Regions from separate parts of the Homo sapiens genome. Here all the other regions are linked to region 1. The links are contacts of gene promoters, found by promoter capture Hi-C in human tissues and cell types (Jung and others, 2019). All regions are on one chromosome and are shown on one strand. Each heading gives the region's core, a stretch centred on a gene start or on the middle of the fragment in contact. The rest is flanking DNA. Distances are from core to core; before and after follow the strand shown.

Region 1 (4,487 bases), core at 653-3,152:
TCCCTGACCCACAGGGACTTCAGGTCAAGACCACACCCACCATCCTTTCAAGGTGGAGACAGTCCCCGTAGGAACCAAACTGATGTATAATAAAACTCATCATTTATTTCTCTTCTCCCTACAGCATTTCAGCCAGTGAATGGTAGAATTTTGCAGGAATAAGAATTAGAGGTGTAGAGGGTTTTGAGATGCGGGGTGGGTCAGGTTTCACTACTCAAGGACCCTAAGACAGGTTTTTGGAAGAAGTGTGTGTGTGTGTGTGTGTGTGTGTGTGTGTGTGTGTAGGACCACATTCAGCCACTCCCATGGGCAAGTATGACATATGACCACTCCTCTCTTCTTGCCCCCTGGCCTCCTTAACCTAGAAGTCACCTTGCTGGCTCATGGGATTCCTTGATACTTCTGCAATCCAGCTTCTCCGCTCCAACAGGCTGTCCCTGCCCAGCTGAGCTGGCCCACCCAGGGTTCCCTCACAGTGCTATGGGCCTCCACTGGCCCCCTCTGCACAGCCCATCCTCTCCAATCTTTCTTTCCAAAGTGAAATCTACCAATGCTTACTCTTTGGCTCTGGCCACATGAGAGACAGACAGACATACAGACACACACTTCTTTCTTTTTGCCTTGGCTCACCACTATTCAATGCCTGGAAGCCTTATTTTCTCCCTTGGGAACCTCCACTCAGTCTTTACAACTGTCATCTCCTCCAGGAAGTCATCCCTGCTCTTCTTCCCAGGCTGGTTCAGAGCCCAGGCATCTGAGCATACACAGCTCATTCATAGCCCCCCCCAACATTTAAAAGATGACTTGGTTGGGTGTCTGCCTCGCCCACTGCGCTGGGAGCTCTGGGCAAGGGCTGTGGTGGGAGCCTCTCCCCCTGGTGCGTGGCGGGAGTCCTGGGGCCCCTCCGCGGACAACAGGGCCCGGGGACGTTCCCAGGCTTGCTGGAGGAGCAGCTTTTGAACGAGGCTCTGCCAGGTCCCAGACCCCAGGAAGCTCAGCTGTCTCCTCGAAATCTTGGGGGTGCCACATGGAGCCCAGTCCCTTTCAGGCACGAGCCCACAACAGCTTAACGCTCTCTTTGGTGGTGGCCGGCCCGAGGCAGGCACCGGAGGCGGAGGGAGCCCTGTTCCGCTGTGGCCGCGAGGAGCGGGCTCTTCGCCCGGGCTCGCACATGAAAGCTCCGTGCAGGGTCGGAGTCTGAGCCCGCCGGCCGCTTGGAAGGCTCCTCACGTCCAGGCGCCGCGGTCACGGCTGCGCTGGTTTCCGGCCATGAATTGGGCTTCAGAGTCCGAGCCTCTTGCCCGACTCCCGGCTGAGCGCGCTGCCCATGGAGCGGGGGATGGGCGCCCGCCGAGGTCCGCGCGGCCAGCCAGGGTTCGAGCCCACGGCCCGGGCTCTACTCTGAGATGCTTGCGGCGGCCGGCCCCCTCTGGCTCCCCAGCTGTCCTGGGGCCTGGCCCGGCGCCCCGCCCCGGTCTCTCTTCTTGCTCCCCAGGTCCCACTCCACGAGGAACGGTCTGTTTCGGCCGGGGACATGACCCGAGACGCGCGGCTGCTGAGGTCGCCAGGGCGCTTCGGGAGCCCCTCGAGGGCAGTTAGCGGCCGGCCCTCCTCCATTCTCCCGCCCCTGGCGAACCGGAGAAGGAGGCCCGAACCGTCAGAGCTCGGCGCGCCGCAGCCCAGGCCGGTCCCCGCCGCTGTGCCGGTCTCCGAGCGTCCCCCGAGCCGGGAGCGTGGAGCACCCGGCGCCCCCTCCGAGCCGCGAGCGGGCGAGAGCCGCGCGGCGAGGCTGAGGCTCCGCAGTCACGTGGTAGAGAGGCGGGCGGAGGGGAGGGAGGCGGGCAGGGAGGGGAGGGGGAGCGGAGCTGAGGGGGAGGGGGAGGGGAGGGGGCGTCCTCCGCAGTTCGCTCCTCGCCGGGGCTCAGACACACAGCCAGCCCAGAGCCGCCACGCCGGCCCGGCCGCCGCCGCCACCGCCTCAGCCTCCCCCGAAGCCGCTCTAGCCGCGGGAAGCGCCGCTGCCACAGCCGCGGGCCGCCCCCGCCGCGCCGGCCTGGGCTCAAGCTGCCAGCACCGCCGCAGCCGCCACCGGAGCCGGAGCGGGAGCCCGACCGCGCTGGGCTGGGCTGGGCTGGGCTGGGGCGGGCGCAGGGCGCAGGGGCGGGCGCGCGGGGGAAGACGCACGGGCGGGCTCGGCTCTCCCGGGGAGCGGCCCGGGACTGCACCGGGACCAGCGCCTCCCCGCTTCGCGCTGCCCTCGGCCTCGCCCCGGGCCCGGGTGGATGAGCCGCGCGCCCGGGGGACATGGAAGCGCTGACGCTGTGGCTTCTCCCCTGGATATGCCAGTGCGTGTCGGTGCGGGCCGACTCCATCATCCACATCGGTAAGCGCGGCTGGAGGCCGGGCCGAGGCTGGGCGGGGGCCCCAACGGGGCAGGGGGTGCGCGGCGTCCAAACTTGGCGTTTCCCTGGGCCGAGGGGCTCGGCGGGCGGTGCTCCCCCGAAGGGCCGCGCCGCGCCGCCCGGCGGAGGAGCTGTGCACCGGCCGCGCCGCGCTCCCGCTGGCTGCTTGCCGCTCCCCGGGGCTCCGATCTCCGCGCGGGGCCCCGCGGCCTCTACCGACACTTAGGGCCGACGCTTCGGGGAACACCGGGATGGACGCGCGTCGAGACCCGCGCCCTTAGCGGGGCCGTCGGCGGGTCGGGAGGGCCCTTCTGCGCAGCTCAGAGCAGCGGGGGGCAGGGGGAGGTACAGCGGGGGGCTCGCCAAGTTGGCAGGGCAAGATCAAAGAGGCCGGACCGGAACCGTGTGTGAATGTGTGTGGGTGCGTGTTGTCAGCGTGTGTCGCTGTGTGCGCCTGGCACGGTGTCGGTGTTACTGTGAGAGGGTGTTGGGGTGTGTGGGGCCATCTGAGCGTGTGTTGGTGCGTGCACGACTGTCTGTCAGCCTGTTAGAGTGGACACAGTGTCTGCCTGCTTCTCCGGTGTGTGTCTGTGTAGCCCTTGGTGTATGTGTGAGTGCGTGTGTATCTGGTTGTGGCGACTGCATCCCCATCCTGGACAGTCCTAGAGTTTTGCGTGGTCCAAGTCTTGGGGGCCCAGACGGTCTGGGTGGTGGGAGCCGAGGGAAGAAGCGTGGGCAGCGGGGGGTAGGGGGATGCTGAGCGGGAAGAGATGGATAGAGAGAGAGAACCGGGAGAGAAGATGAAAGCGCAGAGGAGGAGGGGGCGCGCCGAGGGGGAGTGGGCGCGCCGAGGGGGAGTGGGTGGGAGTTGGGAGCAACACGGGAGGAATCTCGGGAAGTTGGGCCGAGTTGGGGGGCTGACAGCGGTCGCTTTGGGGGAGTCCCTCCGCAGTCGTCTTTCCGGAAGTTGGGAAAGACCAGCGAGCACAGGGAAACTGGGGGTTGGGAGGTGTTGAAGGCGAGGAGGACGGGACAAGGCGGGAGGGTGGGTGGTGGAGTGGGGTGGTGAGGACTAGGCCTGGGCTCGGAGAGCTACGATTCCTCCTCAGGGGCCCGTGACCAAACCTGCTTCCCGCCCTGGAGGGGTGCGGGTCTCGCGGTCAGCATTGCGGCGCCGGCTCCGGGTGTAGTGAGGAATCCGGGCCTCCCTCCTCCTACCCAGCCCCCAGCTCGAGGGATCACTGGGCCTAGCTCCGGGACCTCAGGGACCCTCGAGGCTTGGTGAGGCGGGATGTGGGTGGCTGACTCCAGAGCTGTCCAGGTTGCAGGACTAGGCTCGGGCTGGTCGCACTGATCTCGGCTGGAAGCGCAGGGTCCGTGGAAGCTGTGCTAGGCGCACAAAGCGCCAGCCGGAGGGCGCCCTGGAGGAGCTGTCCGCGGTTCTAGAAAGCCCTTCAAGAGCAGCTCCTTCTGGGACCCCCAGCTCCGCTAGATCTGAACGTGGAGGCGCCTAGGACACAAGTCCCCTTCCCCCACTCCCCTCGACAGACGTACAGGAAATGGGAGTGGGGAAGGATGGAGAGTAGGAGGCTGAGCTCAGGGCGCCAGGCCGGGCAGCGTCACAGTCATCCAAGCTGCAGGCCATCCGAAGCCCCTGCCTAAGGAAGACCCCTCTGCGCAGGAAAGCCAACTGTAGACCTGCTTCGCTCAGCTCCACTCAGCAGGGGACGTGCATGGAGAAGGACCCATCATTCTGTCCTGGGATTTGGGTGGGGGACACCACCCTCCCGGGGAACTTCCTGGCTCCTGGGATGGGATTTATGGAACCATGTCAAGGCATTTGGGCGCTGCCTGGGGCCACCCCAGCTTGGCTTAGTCCCTTGTGTGGAGCATGGCTAGGACATGTGGTGCCTTGGTTGTGAGACACGTGTGTGACCTGGTGGCAGCCTGTGGGATGTGCATGTGTAACTCATGTCAACTGTGTGCACGTGTGCGCTGAGGGCTGGTGGGGGGAGGGGAACATATTCCTGTGCAGGTGGAGATCGGAGAGCCTTAATCTACCCCGCCAAGCTGAAATCCCAGTTC
Region 2 (4,487 bases), core at 655-3,154, 420 kb after region 1:
CCCTTCCCCTCCCGCACCCCACACCTGTCAGAGTACCCTCCTGGGAGAAGCACGTCTTCTGTTCCCATAGAAAGTGCTTCCTTTGTCCTCTCCACCCAAATTTAAGCATCATGTCCAGACGGTTTCTCTCCTCTCCAGTTTGTGTATTCCTGTGTGGGCTTAAAGTGTATTTTTCTGTTCATGTTCCTGATTATAAAGTTAATACTTAATAATAAAAACATCAATTCAGACAACAATGAAATATCGTATTACCTTTCAGAATGGTCAAGATTTTTGGAAGCAGTTTACATATATTTATTTTTTCCTTAAAGCACATGTTTTTATTAAAATTTGAAAATACTGTATATACTTAGAAGCATTCAGAATGTCAAAAAAACAGGATCTTTTTTCTTGCAATTATAAGCTGGTATTAAGTTCATAGAAGAGTTAATACAAGTTGCATCAAAAACAAAACTACTACTCCAAATATAGTTTGTGTTATATGTGACCTGCTTTAAATTTCTGTGTCAATTTACAGCCCCATACTGTAAGATACAAAGTCAGTGTCTATTGCAAATACCTCTAAAAGATAGGTTCATAATGTTTTAATCTTAATACTAGGCTTACTACACAAAAATTATCTACACATCCTTATTATTTCAATTTTTAAAAAACCAAGTGAGATGTGTGTAGGGCAGTTAATTCCTTCAGAGAAGAGAACATCTTCTAAGTTGGGAAATTGTCACTCCAGGTGACAATGCAGCTTCCCAAAAGGACTACCTAATTCCTCAACTCCATCCTCAACCACTTCATCCTCATCTTCCTCTTCCTTGGACTAGATGTTTTATCCTTGGCAAGTATCTCTGTTTTTTAAAAATAAACTTTTCACTTGGAATAATTTTAGATGATTAAACAATGGACAGAGAGTTCTTATCTATCCCCTTACTCAGTTTCCCTTGATGTTGATTATCTCATCTAATCAAATCCTACATTGCCATGGTACATTTGTCAAAACGAAGACACTGACAATGGTACATTACTATTTAAACCCAAGACTTTATTTGAATTTCACTAGTTTTTCTACTAATGTCCCTTTTCTGCTCTCAGTTCTAGTCTAAGATACCACATTGCTTTTAGGACAACTTCTTTTTCTCCTATGGTAGGCTTTAACCTGGCAAAGCAATACCATTTTCAAAAATTTCCTCAGCTTGGTAGGCTTATTGTAAGGTTGCTTATCACCTGCAGTGTTATTCAACATTCTCCTAATTCTTTTGCAACATATCCAAGATGCTCTCCTTTGATTTCTGGGGATAGACCGAACAAAATAAGAACAAGGTCGAAGGAGGCTATTGAGTGTATTGGGACGTCTGACCCTCTTTCTTTCCCCTTCAGAAGGAAATAAGGCTTTCATAGCGTGGCTTTATGCTTTTGCCACTTCTTCAGCATCCTCTCTTCTCAGCAGATTTGGTGGTCTTCTTTACGAAGCATTTTTTAGAAAATTCTGTGAAGTTGACTGAAGCATCAGGTGCTGCTTCTTGTGTGCCTTTCTCTGGCACAGCATCCTGCAGAGTCACGACACTCTCCATGGACGTGCACTTGTGGGTCTGTGGTGACCACAGTGCCCCTGGGACAATGACTGGGTCTTCTAGGGGAATCTGTAGCCATAGCTTCATTCCCAAAACTGGCTGCCTTGCTCATACGTGCTCTACATACATATTTTTAAATTATATTTTATCTGAGATACGAAAGTTATCCATGGCCATTATAATAAGAAAAACAGTTCAAAGATGTGTAAAGCAGTATTCTCCCCACCCCACACCACCTCCAGTCCCAGGCTCCGTGTTCACAGCTTGGAGTGTATCCTTGCACAGCTCTGTGTGGGTAACAAGGTACCAATGCATGTGGTGGGTACTTACCTCAAACCACAAATTCAGAAGTGGAAACAACACAGCCTTTTTTGACTGCAGCGGAACTTAATTTTCATTTTGCACTTCCCCTTCTGTGTGGGGGCAGAGAATGCAGCCACGGCCATGCTGTGTTTCCCCTGTCCCCTTCTCCTGGAGGAGCCTCTCTGATTTGGCAGTGAGAATAATGGTGCGGGTGGACAGTGCTGGTGGGGACTGCCCTGGTTCATTGTCATCACTGTCGCGCCTCTTCTGAGCCATACACTGTTCCTTCTGGACTTGCTGTTGTCTCTCTTGCTGTGTTTGCCAAGTCATCCACATTTCCGCATTGTGAGCCATTGGAGCTTATGACTGTGTGCTTCTCATATTCACCTACTATTGGCCTGTCCCTGACTCTCAGGTCACCAGGCAGCTCCACAGGCCACACTGGGGAGTGTGGGTGGGGTTCTGGGAGGCCCCTTATGTCTACCTTCCTGGATGCTTGAGAACACTGGGCTTGTTGGCATCACAGTGCAAAATGAAACTGAAGACAATTTCTCAGAGCCGCCCAAGACTGACCTGGGGATTCTTCCCCCCGCAATCCCCGGGGCTGGCCTTGGCCCTGGGAGCAGGGACAGCATCCCTTTCCAAGCCCCCACTGGACTCTGTTACTCAAGTCTCTCATGTCATCTCTTTTTGCCTGAGCATTTTTCTCTCTTCATGGCATCAAAAGTATTTTCCCGAATAAATTATTTAGAGCAGTGATTTCCAAAGTGGGTTACACAATTGATTCCTTGGTGTGTCAAAGAAAATTATTAGAACTTCTGTTTCTAATTTTTAAGTCAAAAAGCAAAGGAGTGAAGCTTCCTAATATTTAACACGAGTTGACACTTGGGTCGAATGGAGTGGACACTGAGCAGGGTTCAGAGCAGTGACCTTACCTGGCTGCTTGTCTTCTCAGGGCATTGAGCACAACCTATTTAATCTGCCATGAGATACCATTAGCTGATTACTTTTTAAAACACAAGACCTTTCAATGGCAGACTCTTTATAGTACCTTGTAATGAAATGGGGAGAAAATTTTGAAATCTTTTGTACTACCCAGAGCTTCACTGGTGATCTTTTGGCAAAGTGCTTAAAAGTCTGGGACTTGATGCTAAGACATTTTTCTCTCATTAAAAAACAAACTTTGAGGATTGCTGACCCTATTTGTAATAATGAGATAATGTCAATTGAATGCTACCTGGCAGATACTCTTCTAAAAATTAAACATATTTTATCTGTCCCTTCAATGTTTTAACAATTCATAAGAAAGTAATTGCTTTTTGAAGTAAATTCTTGGTTCAAGAGAGCATTTTGAAAATGAATGGTCGGAAATATTTCCAGTATTTTTAATTGTTGTTGCTGAAAACCATATGTGTCACTCATAAATAATAATTTAAAGCCCTTATATCTGCTTACTAGAAAACAAACCTTGGAAACAGAATTTTCTAATCCGTATATAAAAAACTTCCACAGTGAAGTATCTCAGGATGTTTTGAAAGTGCTTATGAAAACTATGAAAATTTTATCATCCTAAAAACCTGGGAAACAGAATTTTCTAGCCCATGTGTAGGAACTTTTCAGAGTGAAGGGTTTCAATGTGCTTTGAAATGACTTTCTAAAAACATGAAATTTTAGTGTGTTTGAAGTATCTGGGAAGATGGAAATGTATTAGTCAACTTTTTGACAAATTCTGTTTGCTAAGATTGAGGAAGCAATACCCCAAAGAACTTCTTCAGTTTGGACATATGGAAATCTGACAGATACCACTTTCAGCTACAGTACAGTACCCATTAAAATCAAGTATTGAAATAAATGGAAACTGGAAGCAGGCTTTGAATTACTGTATTACAAAGGGTTAAACCAAGATTTAAAAAAAATTAAAGCATTTTCAATTACATTGCTGGACTTAAATTGTTTATAATGGAGCATATATGTTTTTAATTATACCAAAAAGATTTTGTACTATTAATCACAGTAAATCATAACTTATTAAAATCATTTATTTCTTCTTTTGGATCTTTTCGTATTATATATTCTAATATGTTTTATAATCTATAGTAATTCATGTGCATAATTTTTAAATACCTAAGTATACACATAACGGAGCACCTGCTTCAAAGGTTTTGCTGATAGGTGTTCATGGTTAGGATGCTTGGCAGTCATAGTTTGGATGAGGACCTCAGCATTTGAAACTCAAAGCCATGAGTTAACCTTTATTTCTATAGTCTGCTGGGGTACCCATTATTTCCATGTCTTTAGGAGGGCCACTGTATAAAAGAAATTAGTAAAATGAAAACATGTCAGTATTATAATATTCTGCAAAAACGCATATAACTATATCATCGTTTTTATTTTAGAAAAAATGGAATTGTACTATATCCGTTACGTTGTAACTTACTTAAAAAAAAAACTCTACAGTAAATCACATTCATCTTTCCAAATTAGTAAATGTAAGTCTAATTTACTCCTTTAGTATTTATCTAGTGACCCATAATATGCACATGCTACATTTTACTAAGCATTTTCCTATTGAGAGATATACATGTTTGCCCCAGGTTTTCTCTTCCATTCTTTTCTTTC
Region 3 (4,487 bases), core at 1,137-3,636, 340 kb after region 1:
TGGGTAGTTAGAGAAACTTTATTGTTAACCTTTGGGGAATCTTTCCTGCAATTATTAATCCCTTCGTGACTTCCACAGACCATCTAAGACATGCTTAAACCTTCTGTCTTGTCCTAAATATCCTTGTTTTAAACCAACCGTTCTCTTTAGGAAAAGCATTTACCATACAAGATCCTTTCTTATATAAAATCTCTTTCCTTTATAACCTTCTTTACATAGCCAGGGTGTGATATACTACCAAAACCAAAAAGAAGTTCTAGTAGACTCAGTGATAGTAAAACTTTCATGCTTCCTTTTTGTTGGTAACTATTATCCCTTCTTTAAAGAGAAGAATTAAGCAAAATTCTACAGCAATGGAAATTCTCTGTCCAATATTTCAGTTAGAAGGTGCTACCATGTATAGCTCTACTGCAAATAGTAGAGTAAGTATAGCAATTCCTGCAAGGGTAACATAGTAGATTATTTCCCTCTAAAATTTTACTTGCCAAGATATAGAATTTCCCTCTGGGGGTCTATGAAGTTCCTTGGTTTTATTTTCCCAAACAAAGAAACCTCTGGGTTATGGACACCCTACTCACTTTCATTACCTGGCAGAATTTGCAGGTTAATTGCCCAGAACTAGCATATTGATCCAGATTTCTATGTTACCCATCCCTTTTTGTTTTTTTCAAGCTTCAGAAGATCACCACTAGATTCACAAGAATAAGCAAGGTTAGTCTAAATATAGGCAAAAAGCTTAAAAATAATTAATGTGACTAGGATTTAATGACAAATGTATGATAAGCTTTGGAGTATAATTTCTCTCTCCAGTCCTCATTTTTGGTAAAAACAAATTATGATGGGACATGTTGTTCATAGAATAAACTTTAGTCTTATACTTGGCGTGATTATTTGCATAAAGTACAAGAATGATTATTAGGCCTTTTGGATTGGCTTTGATGGAACTCTGTTCCACAAGGAATCTCAGATAAGACCTCTTAAAGGTGAGCTCAGACATGGGTTCATATTCTCAAATACCTGTGAGTTGGGTGATCCTCTCCTAGATTTTGGATGTATTTTGAAGGCAGATTGACAGAATCTTCTTAGAGCTTGGATGTGAGTCTTCAGAGAAGAGTCAAGGACAGTGCCATCACTTTTGGCCTGAGTTATAAGAATGGTGAGACCATTTGCTACAATGACAAGGAGGACAGAGGAGTGGGTTTTGGGGGGAAGTGGAAACCAGTGTGTTTTTGGAAATGTTAAATTTGAGAAATCCAATTAGAAGCTTGAAGGAGGCAGCTGGATCTACTATGCTGGAGATGAGAGGAGAGGCTGGAGCTGCAGGTACACCTGGGGACTCACCAGCACACAGACACTGTGGATAGCCATAGTATAGCATTAGAGGGATGCTTAAGGGAGGAGAAGGGATCTGGGGACTGGCATCAGAAGGGTTGCTGTAAGGGCTAAGTGGGGAGCATAAAGCAATCAGCTTTCTTGCCTCCCATCCTTCAGAATTCATGGGACATTTCTTACCTTTAGATTTTACAATTTGGAAGTCTACTAGAAGAGCTGGGACTTTTTTTTTAAGTATAAATATTTTGCTCATGATGACACAATTTTTATTTAGTTACAAACCTGTCATTTGAGATGAAAATGGCCCTTTCCCAGAGTCCCTCCTACCAGGTGGCTTTTCAGAGAGAAGGGTGGATACTCCAGTGCCCTGGGCACTGGCTAAGAGGTATGCTGAGGGGAGCCCTGGCTGTCCTGAGCAAGTCATCTCTGGTAAAGACTGAGCATCACATGCTCCCCCCTTCTCTAGGTTTGAGCCCAGCTATTCCATGTGAATCTGCACATGAATATTTAAAGATTCCAATATCTAAAGATAGTTCTCATCATTTCTAGAGCATTCCAGGGCAGATAACAGATACCTGTTTTGTTGTAGGAAGACCAGGGCCAGTTCACTTCGGTGGACTGACTCACCTGAAGTCAGACAGTAAATCGGTCCATACCAGTGACCCTGGCTTCTAATCCCATGGCCTGGGACCTTAATTCCATAGCCTTGATGAGTATATAAAATTCCATAACCTTCCCAGAATGAAAGGGGTAGAGTTGCCCCCAAACAGCATACAAAGATGGAAGCTTTGATTACTTGCACAGCTGCTGTAGTGCACAGTTTGGTGGGGCAGCACACATATGCAGTGGGAGCAGGCTAGGGTGGCTCCTTGCTCATAATTATTTGTCAAGGAAGTATTGGGTGGAGATGCAGGAGGCAGCTTTAGAGCCACACACACCTGGTGGGTGAATGGCATCTCAGCGTCTTGTGAGATGTGTAATTTGAGAAGAGTCCCCTCACATCTTTGAGCCGAATTTTCTCATCCATACATCACGGGGTATTAACTCTTACCTCCAGGAGTGGTTAGAAGGATTAGTCAGATGATGTACATAAAGGAGCCAGCACACAGCCTGGTACAAACCCAGTGTTCATCAATGTTTATTCTCTTGTCTATATACAGCCAATGAGAAATTCATGATGGTAATAGGTACAGGTTAATGATGAGCAGTTTCTGTAATGACTGTTGTGATAATGTGAGTGTTGATTTTATGCCAATAAATCAATTAGGAAACCTGAGCTGAGGAAACAAGATGTCTGATGTGTAGGCAAAACAAAGGCAAACAATGTATGTGACTGGAAGCCGTCAGCTGTGGCTTTTCCTGAAGGAAACTTGGTCTCAAATGGACCTTGGGAGAAGCAGCTGCAGACTCCCTAAGCAGGATATGATGATCTGAGTTCAGGAATATAACACCTGAAAAACTGGAACTAAAGCTGTCTCAGCCACTAAAATCAGATAAGGGTTTCATAGCAGCACTGTTCACAACAGCCAAAAAATGGAAGCAATTCAAATATTTGTCAACTGCTCAATGGATAAATAGAATGTGGCATATCCATACAATGAAATAGTATTTAGCCGTGAGAAGGAATGCAGTTCTGACACATGTTACAGCTTGGATAAAACTTGAACACATTATTCTAAGTGAAAGAAACCAGGCAAAAAAGGACTACTATCCCATGACTGCATTAATATGAAATGTCCAGAACAGGCAAATCCATGGAGACAGAGAGCAATGAGTGGTTGCAGGGGCTGCGGAGAAAGAAAAATGGAGAGTGACTGCTAATGGATATAAGATTGTCCTTTGGGGGTGATAAAAATATTCCAGAACTAGACACAGTTGATGTATTAAATGCTGTGGCATCTTATACTTTAAATGATTAAAATTGTGGATTTTATGTCATGTATATTTTCCCACAATTAGAAAATAATCAGATAGAGAAGTCTGGGATTTTACTCCAGGAGACCCTCAAGACAGGCTGCTCCTTCTGAGTGGAGCTCTTTGTCCTGCCTCCCATGGCCCCACTGTGAGCCAGACTTAGCCCAGCATGCTTTAGACAGGTTGTTTCTTTGTCTCCACGCAGCTGTGAGAGTGGTGCTCTCCTACTTTACAGGCCAGGAACAGAGGCTGAGAGCATGTCATGCATTTTCTCCAGTCCCAGGCCAGCATGTGCTGAACTGGGATTCACACCCCACACGTCTCCACATGAGGGCTGGACCTGCCACCATAAGCACCAGTCTCTGGTCATCCAGCATAGCCACTGTTGTTTATTGAGCATTTACTATGTGCTGGCTCCAGGGTAGGTCTGGGTTGCTTCTCACCAGTTAGGTTCAGTTCTGGGTCCCCTATGCTGAGTACAGTGTCTGGCAAAGAGTAGAAGCTGAGTGTGTGTTTGTTAAGTACATATTAGGTTTTTGTCACTGACATAGTTGACTTGGTTGTAGATGGCAAACTGTATCGAAGGAATGGCTTTCTCTTTGACAGCCAGCACCAGTGGAGATTTCAACAAAAGCGAGCCTGAGTCCTAGCTTCTCTGAAGTAAAGCTGCTTGAAACCCTCATCCTCCGTTCCTCTGAAACTTGACAGCCACAGCTCATCAAGCAGTTGAAAATCATTTATATGTTCAGAAATGGACAATTCAGTATTGTAAATTTTGAAAATTAACAAACTGTTAAAGGATCACTGTGCACTTGAAGTTGTGGCAGAAAGCAAGCATTTCTGCGCTTGTAAGAGCAATATGTATGCGTGTGTGTTTCAGATATTACTCATCAAATACAAGCATATGTTTATAACTCTCCATCTATATGCAAATAGTTTGTGGTGTGGCGCTTATATCCCAAACAAATAGTGTGAAACGTATATAAATTATGCAATAATATAGATGTTGCACATATGTTAGTTGGAGCGAATTATCATCAAAACTCTGGGATTGGATGGGTTTGTGTTGTGCATGTTAGCAACACCCCCTTGGGCCTTGAGGGCAGTGCCAGTGAAGGTCTTGCTGTAGGAACAAGCCAGAGGGTGGTGTGGCCTTGGAAAGTGGCTGCTCCCCTGCCCCAGGGCACAGAAGGACTATACCCTGAGGCACAGAGCTTAGAGGCAGGTTCCTCAGAACAGAG

What was found. The method cuts DNA at HindIII sites, captures the fragments that hold promoters and counts their contacts. A contact is called where the count stands out against the background at its distance.
Region 2: a fragment that was not itself captured here is called in contact with the fragment with the promoter of GRID1 in region 1 in 1 of the 25 tissues and cell types used here (dorsolateral prefrontal cortex).
Region 3: a contact is called between a fragment that was not itself captured here and the fragment with the promoter of GRID1 in region 1, in 1 of the 25 tissues and cell types used here (dorsolateral prefrontal cortex).

Annotation. Positions count from the first base shown.
Region 1 is chr10:86,364,210-86,368,696 of GRCh38, reverse strand. GRID1 (glutamate ionotropic receptor delta type subunit 1) reads left to right here and starts at 1,902. Exons shown (of 16, transcript NM_017551.3): 1 at 1,902-2,383. The coding sequence starts at 2,305. RefSeq lists silencers at 1,204-1,413, 1,524-1,913, 1,934-1,983, 2,214-2,413, 2,444-2,593. The HindIII fragment of the contact is 18,696 bases long and covers 1-4,487 here.
Region 2 is chr10:85,944,652-85,949,138 of GRCh38, reverse strand. All of the region lies in intron 4 of GRID1 (glutamate ionotropic receptor delta type subunit 1), which reads left to right. Among named protein-coding and RNA genes, the nearest start is that of GRID1-AS2, 300 kb to the right of the region's middle. RefSeq lists an enhancer at 1,937-2,276. The HindIII fragment of the contact is 5,837 bases long and covers 1-4,487 here.
Region 3 is chr10:86,025,902-86,030,388 of GRCh38, reverse strand. All of the region lies in intron 4 of GRID1 (glutamate ionotropic receptor delta type subunit 1), which reads left to right. Among named protein-coding and RNA genes, the nearest start is that of MIR346, 240 kb to the left of the region's middle. The HindIII fragment of the contact is 3,252 bases long and covers 761-4,012 here.